4 separate regions of the Homo sapiens genome follow, and all the other regions are linked to region 3. Evidence: promoter capture Hi-C in 16 types of primary human blood cells and fetal thymus (Javierre and others, 2016). All regions are on one chromosome and are shown on one strand. Each heading gives the region's core, a stretch centred on a gene start or on the middle of the fragment in contact. The rest is flanking DNA. Distances are from core to core; before and after follow the strand shown.

What was found. Contacts are between HindIII fragments. The CHiCAGO score rates a contact against its expected background, and 5 or more counts as called.
Region 1: a fragment that was not itself captured here is called in contact with the fragment with the promoter of ZHX2 in region 3 in 1 of 17 cell types (naive B cells); the score reaches 5.3 in naive B cells.
Region 2: a fragment that was not itself captured here is called in contact with the fragment with the promoter of ZHX2 in region 3 in 1 of 17 cell types (total B cells); the score reaches 9.7 in total B cells.
Region 4: a contact is called between a fragment that was not itself captured here and the fragment with the promoter of ZHX2 in region 3, in 3 of 17 cell types (naive B cells, total B cells and fetal thymus). The highest score is 9.4, in naive B cells.

What each region holds. Positions count from the first base shown.
Region 1 is chr8:124,478,466-124,481,756 of GRCh38, forward strand. The region is part of intron 1 of RNF139 (ring finger protein 139); the gene reads left to right. Among named protein-coding and RNA genes, the nearest start is that of RNF139, 5.2 kb to the left of the region's middle. The HindIII fragment of the contact is 4,337 bases long and covers 1-3,291 here.
Region 2 is chr8:124,462,117-124,465,094 of GRCh38, forward strand. RNF139-DT (RNF139 divergent transcript) reads right to left here. Exons shown (of 2, transcript NR_108047.1): 2 at 377-2,978. Among named protein-coding and RNA genes, the nearest start is that of RNF139-DT, 11 kb to the right of the region's middle. The HindIII fragment of the contact is 1,028 bases long and covers 1,159-2,186 here.
Region 3 is chr8:122,780,375-122,783,492 of GRCh38, forward strand. It overlaps ZHX2 (zinc fingers and homeoboxes 2), which reads left to right and starts at 1,281. Exons shown (of 4, transcript NM_014943.5): 1 at 1,281-1,572. ZHX2-AS1 (ZHX2 antisense RNA 2) reads right to left here and starts at 1,230. Exons shown (of 2, transcript XR_007061082.1): 1 at 1-1,230. RefSeq lists enhancers at 1-225, 226-725, 1,893-1,942, 2,598-3,118 and silencers at 1,993-2,062, 2,283-2,412. The HindIII fragment of the contact is 13,394 bases long and covers 24-3,118 here.
Region 4 is chr8:124,445,079-124,447,998 of GRCh38, forward strand. No RefSeq gene overlaps it. Among named protein-coding and RNA genes, the nearest start is that of TYW2, 4.3 kb to the right of the region's middle. The HindIII fragment of the contact is 2,542 bases long and covers 268-2,809 here.

The DNA.
Region 1 (3,291 bases), core at 400-2,899, 1.7 Mb after region 3:
GGTGCAGTGACTCCTGCCCATAGTCCCAGCTACTGTGGAGGCTGAGGCACGAGAATCTCTCGAATCGGGGAGGTGGAGGTTGCAGTGAGCCAAGATCGCGCCACTGCACTCCAGCCTGGGCGATAGAGCGAGACTGTCTCAAAAAAAAAAAAAAAGTCAAAAAAAATTTATCAGATTGGTGAAGAGTTCAAAGTTTTATTAGTTTTGCAAAGGTATTTACCTTTTTGAAATAGGTAAATTTATACAATTTTGGAAGACTTTTTTTTTTTTTTGAGACGGAGTTTGCTCTTGTTGCCCAGGCCGGAGTGCAATGGCGTGATCTCGGCTCACCACAACTTCCACCTCCCAGGTTCGGGCGATTCTCCGGCCTCAGCCTCCCGAGTAGCTAGGATGATTACAGGCAAGCGCCACCACCCCCGGCAAATTTTTTTCTATTTTTAGTAGAGACAGGTTTTCTCCATGTTGGTCAGGCTGTTCTCCAACTCCCGACCTCAGGTGATCTGCCCACATCGTCCTCCCAGAGTGCTGGGATTACAGGCGTGAGCCACCGTGCCTGGCCCGGAAGACTCTTAATTTCAGTGTAAAACCATTTGGCAGTATCAACTGTCATTTACAACTGACTTCTCAGTGTTTTGTTTTGTTTTTGAGACAGTCTCACTCTGTCACCAAGGCTGGAGTGCAGTGGCGTGATCTCAGCACACTGCAACCTCCACCTCCCAGGTTCAAGCGATTCTCCTGCCTCAGCCTCCCAAGTAGCTGGGATGCCTGGCTCGTACAACTTTTGACTCACAATTTCAATTCTAGGGAATTGGCCTAGAGAGATAGTTTGCTTAAGGACTATGGGCAAGCATTACTGGAAATAACAAAGCAACAAACTTAATCTAAATATGTATTGATACAAATCTGTTCATTGTATTAGGTCTAGCCATGCAATAAAGTTCTTGAAAGAAATGAGATAGCTATTTTTGGTGCCGAAAAAGACTTCAGAAAACCTCTGAAGTGAAAAAACAAAGCCGAAGTAATTATCACTGGCAGAGGAATAGACAGAGATTTCTCAACAGTGGCAGTATTGACATTTTGGACAGGATAATTCTTTGTTTGCGGATGGGAGCTCTCCTGTGCACTGTAAGATTTTTAGCAGCATCACTATCCCCTGCCCATTAGATGCCAGTAGCACCTTGCACCCCCACACCCCAGTGTGACAGCCAAAACTGTCCCTGGATATTGCCAAATCATGGTTGAGAACCATTGGGATAGACAAATAGATTAGTACTTAGCCTTATTTATAATTACATAGCCCAGAAACAGACACCAATGTATATATAGAAATAATGTGTTTCAGAGATAGAATTGAAGTACATTGAGGTAAATATGGACTGTTGAATTAATGATCATTTTGTTACACCTTTGGAAATAAATTATACTAGATGTCTACCTTATGTCAATATATAGACAGTCACTTCTAGGTTGAGCAGTGTAGTGAGACCCTGTCTCTGCAAAAATAAATATTTAAAATAATAGCCATACTTGGTGGTGGGTGCCTGTAGTCCTATCTTACTCAGGAGGCTGGGGTGAGAAGATCGCTTGGGCCTAGGAGTTCAAGGCTGCAAGTGAGCTATGATTGCATAACTGCACTCCAGCCTGGCTGGGTGACAGAGCAAGACCCTGTCTCTTAAAAAAAAAAAATAGTCATTTCTAAGTGTATTCTTACCTAGATGTATATGTAAATATGAAATGCAGAACTTTAAATTTTTAGAAAAAAATATGGAATATTTTATTTTTCCAATCTTAGATTAAGGAAGAAATCCTTAAAAATATATAAAAGCAAATACATAATGAAGATTGATAAACCGAATGATATTGAGGTTAAAAACCTATGTTAATCAAAAGATCGCACCACTGCACTCCAGCCTGGGCAACAGAGCGAGACTCCATCACTAAAAAAAAAAAAAAAAAAAAAAGGAAGTCAAATCTTGGGTAAGGGGGAACTACTGTACTTACATTTACCCATTTATTATAAAGGCAATTACAAAGGACACAGATGAATTAACCCGATGGAAGGAGATGTACAAGGTGAGACAAAGAAGGAGAGAAGAGGAGAAGGGGCGTGGAGCTTCAGTGTTCAGCTATCTGAGAGCTCACAGAACTCAGTCCTTTTGGGCTTCTATGGAAGTTCATTAAATAGGCAAGATTGATTAGATCACTAGTCATTGGTTTATGGACTCAAGTTTCAGCTTCTTTCTTCCCAGAAGTGGCGGCTGGGGGTAGGAATCAAAGTTATAACCCTTAATCACTGGGCTGATTCCCCTGGCTACCTAGCCCCCATCCTGAAGCTATCTAGGGGCCCCCAGGCACCAGTCATCTGATTATTGTACAAAACAGTCATCACTCCAGAGATTCCAAGGATTTTAGAAGCTATGTCAGAAAATGGGACAAAGACCAAATATTAATATTTTTTTTATGATATCACAGATGGGAAAGACAAACTAGAAAAACTTGCTTTAACTCTTCATTTAACACCTCTCTGTAGGGTTTGGCTTTTTAAAATCCATGTTCATATATTTTTGATAAAAGCATACTTATTATAAGTTTAGTTTAAAAGCAAAAGTTTAATTTTGTGTTAATACTTAGAATACCAGGTTTTTTTTCAACCTAAAATGAGAATCCAATAGAAATGTTTTCTTTATAATTTATCAAGTATACCAACAGATTAACAACATTTCAAGACACTTTGTTGTAAACTTCATTGCGGAAGGCTCCCTTGGGAGTAAGGTAGTAGTAACATTTATTTCTGTGCTTTTCCATATTTATTCTGTCAGGTATTGAAATGTTTTTCCACAGGTTGCTTTTTGTTTTAGAGGTATTTCGGGTACTTGGAGAATTGTAAATATTATGTTTTGTACCCTGATTTTTAGTCATAAGTTTCCAAAAGAGGGTAAGGGTATGAATAGACTTTACACATAAAAGAGTGAAACACTTTGTTATGTAACATGTATAGTAAGTTTTTATTTTTTCTTTTGTTTTTATTTGCCTGTTTTTGGTAATCCAAATTGAAAAGGCCTGAACTCTTTCATGAGTTGAGTTCATATATAGTTTCAAAGTTCCTGAATTGATTTGGATACCTGCCTCTTTTTGGCTACCTTGAAAACTCTAGTGAACTCTCTTAATCACTGGAGAATTGGACTGAGATCTCTGAGTTGTGATTTCAGTAAATTCTGTTCTCAAAATTTTTTATAAAGCAGCATTTATATACAGTCTTGATTACTTGTGCAAGTCACTTCCAAATCCTAA
Region 2 (2,978 bases), core at 423-2,922, 1.7 Mb after region 3:
TGCCTCAGCCTCCCGAGTAGCTGGAATTACAGGTACCCACCCCCAAGCCCAGCTAATTTTTTGTATTTTTAGTAGAGACGGGGTTTCACCATCTTGGCTAGGCTGGTCTTGAACTCCTGACCTCGTGATCCACTCTCCTCTGCCTCCCAGAGTGCTGGGATTACAGCCATGAGCCACCGTGCCCGGCCCACCTTTTGATTTCTGCTCTATTTCTTTTTTTTCTACTTACTTTGGACTAGACCACCACCATTTTTTGCTCCCCACTCTTCTCCTTCAAGGACTGCAATTATACACATGCATTTGGCTGCCTGAAGTTGTCCCACCCTTTACTGATGCTCTATTTATTTTGGTAGGAGGTGTGTGTCTCATTTTATTCTTTTTTCTCTCTGTTTCAGGGAGGTTCTACTGCTGCATCTTCAAGTTCACTGATCTTTCTTTCTGCAATATCTAATCTGCCATTAATCTCATCTAACATATTTTTCATCTCAGACATTGGAGTTTTCATCTCTAGAAGTTTGATACGGGTCTTTTTATACCTTCATTGTCTGTAATATCTTCAGTCTTTCCTCTGGTTTCTTGAATACATGGAATATAATTATAATAACTGTTTTAATGTCCTTGTCTAATAATCTTCATCATCTGTAATTTCTGAGTCAGTTTTGACAGAATGTTTTATTTTTTGTTTGTTTTGAGATGGAGTCTTGCTCTGTTGCCCAGGCTGGAGTGCATTGGCACAATCTCACTGCAACCTCTGCCTCCTGGGTTCAAGCAATTCTCCTGCCTTAGCCTCCTGAATAGCTGGGACTACAGGTGAGCACCACCACTCCCTGCTAATTTTTGTATTTTTAGTAGAGACGGGGTTTCGCCATGTTGGCCAGGCTGGTCTTGAACTCCTGACCTCAGGTCATCCACCTACCTTGGCCTCCCAAAGTGCTGGGATTACAGGTGTGAGCCACTGCACCTAGCCCAGAATGTTTTATTTTTCTTATTATGGGTTGTATTTTTCTGTTGCATGCCTGGTAATTTTTGATTGGATGCCAGCCATTGTGAATTTTACTTTGTAGATTATTTTCATATCCCTAAAACAGTTTGAACTTTCTTCTGGAGTATGATTAAGTTATTTGGACACAGTTTGAATGTTTTTGGGTCTCTCTTTTAAGCTTTGTTAGGTTATTCTAGAGCATTTAGTCGAGGGTTAATTTTTCCCGCTATTGAAGCAAGACCTTTCTTAGTACTCTAACTGGTGCCTTGTGAATTAGGATCTTTTCCACTCTTGCTGACGGGATCAGGAATCATTCACCATCCTGTGTGAGCTTTGAGTATTGTTTTCTTTAATCCTTTCTGATGGTTCTTTGCCAAGCCTTTGGTTATTTCCTCTCATGCATGTACTAATCATTATTTAGCTTAATACTTCAGGAGAATGGTCAGCAGATCTCTGGAGTTCTCTCTGTGTCACTCTGTCCTCTCTAGTATTCTACCCTGTGAACTCTAGTTGCCTTGGGCTCTCAGGACTCCCACTTATATCTCCTCACCTCACAGAGTCTTCTGGGTTCCCTCTCCCCATGCCAAAGCCTTTCTTCAGGCAGCAAGTTGGAGCAATTGTATTGCTCACCTTGTTTGCATTCCATCTCTCATGGATTACTATCCTTCACTGCCTATGTCCAATGCCTTCAGGGCCATTGTTTCATATATTTTGCCCATTTAAAAAAAGTATTTGGAAGTTTATAATTACTTTCTACTTAAATTTACTAGCTGTCACAATCATTACTGAAGAAATTCACTCTTGCAATAATATACATATGTACTTCATTTGACACAGAATTTCAACATGTAAAGCATATAAGAATTTCTTGCCACAATCATGTTTAGAATGCTTACCTATAAGGTGAATATTAAAATATTAGTAAATACAATGACTTTTTTCAGATTAGACATGATAAATAACCTGCAAGGTTACTTGACCATTGGTCACACAGAATTTCAGAGAGATCAGAACCAGTGTCAAAATAGGTATTTGTCTTTTTGGCTTTTTAAAGGTCAAGGTTGAATCAAGGGTAAACGAAAATATTGCATGAACATGAAGCTAAAATTGAATTTTATGTAACACAACAACAGCACTGGGTAAATAGAGATAGGTGGATAGACTGTCTCAGTTTCTTTTTAATAATTTTTATTTTTTTAATCGAAGCTTTACACATAATTTAAAAACTCAAAGGTAACAAAACCTAATATGAAAAAAGCCCACCATGATGAAGCAGCTGTTCTGCAGGTGTTTTGCCCTCATTCTGTGTGTCTACTTTCAATTCCAAATGGGCTTATATGACCAAAGAGATGCAGGATCTAACCAACATGTACCAACAGGAACCATGAGCATGTGTATGGAACTGGGTCCTGAGAGTGCTGGACAAGAATTAAGTTTGTGTTTATATAGGACAGCAGTACCCATTTATAGTATTGGCTTAGGGTTATGTTAACTCTTCCACACTGCGTCATAATCCGAAGAGATCTAGACCATCTAAACATCCCACATAATGTCACAATGACCTACCACATTGATGACATCATGCTAGCTGGATAAGGTGAATAATAAGCAGCTAGCATACTGTACACTGGAGGATGGGAAATAATCCTTAAGACCCAGCAAGCTGTTACCTCAGTGAAACTTTTAGGGCCCAGTAGGCTGCTTGAATGCCAAGATATCCCCTTCACAGTAAAGGACAAATTATTGCATCTCACCCACTCATTTCACCAAAATTATTCTGCCACCAGGGAAGCACACCAAGCTGTGTAGGCTTCTGTGGGAATTCAGAAGTTGGCAGTACTGTTCTGACTCGTAAACTGGGTGAGATAGAAATCTGCCAGTTTTCAGTGGGATCCATAGCATGTAAAAGTTCTCTAGCAGGTATGGTGTATTTAGCCCTGTTGCATGGACCAATTCAGGATATTCTATGGGACAAGAGTAAATGTGATAAGAAGCC
Region 3 (3,118 bases), core at 31-2,530:
CTTTGTTTTCTCGCTGCGCTCGAAGCTTCTAAACTAGCCCCCAGACCGCATCCCCTCGTCCCCGCCCGGGAGCTGCCCAAGAGTCCACAGGCCAGCCCAGGGGGAAACAAGGTACATCTGGGCAGGAATGCGCGGCGCAGACAGGTTGCCGCCTGAGATCCCGAAGTGTACCCAGATCCCGAATTCCTTAGAGCTCTTTAGCCGAGCACTGTGGCAGGAGCGCGGCGCCCGGAATACAAGTTCATGGTTCCGAGCCGGCGGGCGAAGGGCAGCGCGATCCCCCGCCACCTTTGCTCTAAGGCGCCTAGGGGAACCTGGGGGCTGCCGCGGTGAGAGCTCCGCTCCCACTGGGAACATTGGAGTCCCAGTTGCGAAAGCGACCCGCCTAGCTTCCGAGGGACTTCTCTGCGAGCACCGCAGGCGTGTGCATTTCTTCGAATCTGAGAATTCCAGCGAACTCGGGCTCTACCAGAGTTTAAGTCGGCCCCTGGGGCGTCTGTTTGTTTATTGGCTCTTAAGGGAAAAAAGTTTGAAGATCTTTAACCAGCCTCAGACCTGGCGCGGGCGGAAATCCCGGAATCTCCCCAAGCAAAAGTGATATAACTTCAAGTCGTTATATAAGTGGGGGGCTCCTTCTTCCCCTCCCTACGCCGAGCCTTCTCATTATCATTCCGGGAGTAAAATGTGTCTCGCTCAACATAGTTTTAAAATCGTTATTATTATTTTCCTGAGCCTGAAGCCGGGCCAAGGCGCAGGCAGCGCCCAGGGTGCGTGGTGGCCCCACCCGCGCACAGTCCCACGCAAAGGGTCCCGGGGCCCGGGTACCGCCAGAGCCGGGCCTGCAAGCGCGCCCTTCGGTCCCACGGTCCGCCACTCCACGTGGTCAAGATCAACAGTTTGTTGAGCTCATCAGTGACACCTTGAACTTTTCATAAAGAAAATGGGTATTGCACGGAGACGGTTTGGCCGCGGCCGCCGCGCGGGGTCGTGCTTAATATTCAATGATCTCGCTCGCGCCTCCCCCTCCTCTTCTCGCAGAAATTCCACCGAGTCCGTTACTGGGCTCAGACTTTTAAGTTAATTTACTGCCCCCCTACCTTGGCCAGTAACCAGCGCCTTTAGGGCTAGCCTCCCCCCCAGCTCCTGCCTGAAAAATGACATTTCGCCGGTGTCTCCGGAGGGGGCTGAATTTCACTTTGTAACTTTCTGCGGAACCCGAGCCCGGGTGGCAGCTCGGGTGGTGGTATCGTATGCAAATACGCATGCTGACGTTACAGATCATGTGGGTTTTGGCGTAGATTCCCCACTGATCGAGGCATTTTTTTTCCCTTTTTTTTTCCTTTTTTTTTTTCTTTTAAAAATTTTGGCCATCGTTCTCCGTACGGGGGCTTTTTCTGTCTGTCTGTCTGGCTGGCAGGCTGGCTTTCCCCCTCTTTCCCACGGAGCCCGAGCCGGGCGCCCGGTGGGGAGTGGGGAGTGGGTGGGGGGAGCCAGCAGAGTTCCATTTTGGAACGCCCGTGCCGCGTCTCCGCGTTCCCAGCCCGGGTCCCCGCGTTCACAGCCCCAGCGCAGGTAAGAAACTTCGCCTCGGCGCGGAGCCCCCCAGCCGGCGCCGCCGGCCCCAAACCCCGCACGCCGGGCGCCGGCCACTCCAGCCCAACTTTCCCACCGCCGCCGTCGCCGCCGCGGCTCCCGAAAATGTGTTGTTAATGGGACTTGGCCGGGTTTGTGATTGGAAGGGGGGTACGGAAGGGGGGGGGTGTGCAGGCTCTTTTTGCGGGTGGGAGGAAATGAGCGGATACAGAGAGGGAAGAAGATTTTTTTTTTAAGAGTTTTGATTACAAGTTTGGATAAATGGGAGCCAGAGCGAGGAGGAGGAGGAGGAGGAGGAAAAACATGTCTACGTTTCCCTATGTCGACATAAGCCACAAAAAAATATGGCGTCCGCTTTCGACAGGGCGTTACGTAGACCCGACTGTTTTTATTTATTTATTTCGTGGCCGTCTCCCTCCCTTCTTGGCCAAACTGCGGCGCTTTGTGCAAACGGGGCAGGTCCCGCGGGGACTCCACCGGGACGTGGCCCCGTCTCCGCGCGTTTTGGCAGGCGGGGGGCTGCGTGTGTCTGCTCCCCTCCCTCCCCCTCTCCCCTCGCTCCCCTCTCCCGGTGACGATTCGCCGTAATGTGGTGGCAGGAAGCATGACGCCGTGGGCCGAGGCTGCCTCTGCTCTCGTCGCTCCCGGCGGCTGCAGGCAGCGGGCGCGCAGCGCGGGCGGCAGCCGAGCTACCTGGCGGGGGCAGGGCCGGAGCGCGGCGCTGTCCTCACCCCCGCTCAGGTGCAGGGGGAGTCCGCGCGGGGCGGGGGGCCGAGGGCGGCCGCGGGACCCCCGGCCCTGCTGTCCGCTGCCAGCTGGCCGGAGCCTCTGCCAGCCCGAGCCCACGTTCGCCCCCCTGAACGGCAGCTGGCGCTTTTCGTCTGCCCCACAAGAGGTTAATCTTTGTTGGTGTTGCAGCTTCTTTGTGGCTTCCCCAGGACTTGTATCCTCGGCTTTGCAAACTTGCCCTTTTCCCAGCCGCTTTGCAGGAGGCTGCGGAGACGAAGATGAGCGGAAAGTTGGAAACCAGCAGGCATCACAGGACGGTCCCTTTGGCCTCGTAGCTGTGCTGAGCCTGGGAGGCGGAGGAGGAGGTGGAGGCGGCGGCGGAGGAGGGTTTGTCAGGCTGGGGAGAAAACTTGATGAGGAAGCCAAATTGTGATTTGTTCAGGTTTCCACCTGATTGATAGTCTTCAAAGCCAGTAGGTCTCTACCTTCAACTGTTTCGCGGTGGCCTTTTGTTTGTCTGGGGCGTGGAGAAGGAGAGAAGTCGATGAATAAGGACTTTCCCTCGACCCCTCCCCTTTTAAAGAGTGGTTGCTCAGCTTGGCCCCCTGGGACACTGCCTTTTAGGCCCTGGAGTTCTTCCCCAACCTGCTCTCTGATCACTTTCTCTCTGTTAAGTTACCAGATCTCCAGGTCTCAGGCAGGCCCCGATGAGCAGAATGGAGTTAGAGGAGAGGATTCCTTCCCCCAGCACTTCTTGAATTGCCCAGACCTCCCACAATTACCCTCTTAAAACCAC
Region 4 (2,920 bases), core at 289-2,788, 1.7 Mb after region 3:
AGCCAGGTTTCTGATGTTTCCTGTCAGAGCTTAGCAAGGGTCCTGTCTAAAATTTGATTGGTCCTTTCTACTTTTCCTGAAGACTGTGGCCTCCATGCGGAATGAAGACCATATTGAATTCCTAGAGCGGATGCTATGTCTTGGTTATTGTTGCTGTAAAGATGGGCCATTATCACTCTACAAGCTTTTAGGCAACCTGAATCTGGGAATCATATCCTTGAATGAAAATTTAGAAACCTTGATTGACTTTTCAGGCCAGATAGGAAAAGCTTCAATCCAACATGTAAAGAAAGGTATCAACCAACACTGATAAATATTGGAATCCTTTACATGGGGGCATTTGGGTATAGTGTGTTTGCCAATCTTCTTCTGGGTACGACCCCCTATGCTGAACAGGCTTTACTAATGGAGGAGGTAAAGTTTGGTTGTTTGAGGTTTTTTTGGGCACACAATTCACAGGCCCAAGTCACTTGTTTTACTGTTCTAAGAAAGTCTTTTCGGCCAGGCACGGTGGCTCACGCCTGTAATCCCAGCACTTTGGGAGGCTGAGGTGGGTGGATCACGAGGTCAGGAGTTCAAGACCAGCCTGGCCAACATGGTGAAACCCTGTCTTTACTAAAAATACAAAAATTAGCTGGGCATGGTGGCAGATGCCTGCAATCCCAGCTACTCGGGAGGCTGAGGCAGAGAATTGCTTGAACCCAGGAGGCAGAGGTTGCAGTGAGCTGAGATCACACCACTGCACTCCAGCCTGGGTGACAGAGCGAGACTCCGTCTCAAAAAAAAAAAGAAAGTCTTTCCCTATAAACAGATGAGCCATATTAATTGAAATGAGAAATCTCTTCCCAAATGAGTAGAGCCATGCCAATACTTAACTATTTTCCATTGATCAGCTCTTGGTACATATCATCTGTCATTTTCATCAATTAGCCATCTGGAAGTGCTTATAGTTAACCCATGGGTCTTAGCCCATTTTTGTTCTTTTCTAGTATTAACCATGCTCTAGTTTTATCGTCACCAAGGCAGTGGGCACCAACATGCCTACCAGATTAACTGGTTCCCTCAAATGAAGCTGCCTCAGCTGTAGCATCTGCAAAAGAATGCCCTTTTATTATTTTGGAGTTTTCTTTCTTTCTTTTCTTTTCTTTTTTTTCTTTTTTTTTTTTTTTTTGAGTCAGAGCCTTGCTCAAGTTGCCCAGGCTGGAGTGCAATGGCACGATCTCAGGCTCACTGCAACCTCTGCTGCCCAGGTTCAAGCAATTCTCCTGCCTTAGCCTCCCAGGTAGCTGGGATTACAGGCACGAGCCACCACGCCCAACTAATTTTTGTATTTTTAGTAGAGATGGGGTTTCACCCTGTTGGCAAGCCTGGTCTCGAACTCCTGACCTCATGATCCGCCCGCCTTAGCCCCTCAAAGTGCTGGGATTACAGGTGTGAGCCACAGTGCCTGGCATATTTTGGAGTTTTCTTTTTGATGTCCCTTGCAGTGAATCACAGCAACTTCCTTAGGCAGCAAGGAAGCATCTAGTAGATTTAAAATTCCCAAATAATGTTCTATAGGGGAGCCCTTAGAAGTTAAAGAGTCCCCATTATTTCCAAATAGCAGCATGAGCATGAAGCACCAGAAAGCCATACTTGGAGTTTGTGTACATGTTAATTCTTTTTTAAAATTATTATCCTTTTTTGAGACAGAGTCTCGCTCTGTCTCTAGCCTGGAGTGCAGTGGCATGACCTTGGCTTACTGCAAGCTCTGCCTCCTGGGTTCAAGTGATTCTCCTCCCTCAGCCTCCTGAGTAATTGGGACTACAGGTGTGCACCACCACGCCCAGGTAATTTTTGTATTTTTAGTACAAATGGGGTTTCACCATGTTGGCCAGGCTGTTCTGGAACTCCTGACCTCAAGTAATCCGCCTGCCTCAGCCTCCCAAAGTACTGGGATTACAGGTGTGAGCCACCACACCCAGCCCTAGTGGCCCGTCTTTTAAATCCTGCCAGCTGGAATAAATTTGTTCCATAGCTTGTGTACATGAATGATCTAGGGTGCCTTTGGATCCAAGTAGATACGTAGCTAGGATTAAGGTCTTCTGTTATACTTTAAGAGTTATATCAAGAGTATCTAGCAATAAAGCCTGATAATTTAATAACTATCCCCTACTCATCTATTGGTGCCCTTTAGCTTCTAGGGCCTCTGTTATTTGGTGTGGGGTCAAAACCTCCAGATGTTGTCCCAAAGTTAATTTATTGTCTTCATCTATGAGAAGAGCAGTTGTTGCAACTGCCCTGAAACATCTGAGTCATCCTGAAGCCACATGGTCAATTGGTTAGAAAAATATGCCATGGGTCAAGGGATGTATCCCTGTTTCTAGACAAGAACATTTAGGGCTGTCCCTTGTTTCTCAGCCACATAAAGGAAGAAAGTAAAGCCTGTCCCTAAACCCACGGGGAAGAATTGTCCAAGTTAACACAGAAACCAAAAGATTATTAGGTAATCAAAAGTAAAGACCACAATAGGGGACTCAGCAAAAGAAATGTTTCACTAGAGAAGGGAAATGACAAAGTTCTAGAAAGGAATGTCCAAGTTCAGGCCAGTAGCGGCAAGCAGGACAAGATTTACATGGCCTTGCCATTTGTAACCAAAAAGTAAAAGTCATTCCATTAGCAAGGAGATGAAAAAGAACTGCTGAAAAGCAATCTCCAGTTTTCCATCCTGGAGCAGTTCACCTAGGGGGGACTGGTATAATTGCTGCCAGGCTTAATCTTTCACATTGGACCTTTTCATTTAAAACTTGTAAATGCGAAATTCCAAGTAAGCTTTGCAAAAAAGGAGAGACAATAAACAATTCATTTAAGTGGTCTAGATCTAGGGAAAGTAAATATTACAGAGCCATTTGTCCCCAATGTCTTCTAGCAACATGCCAGA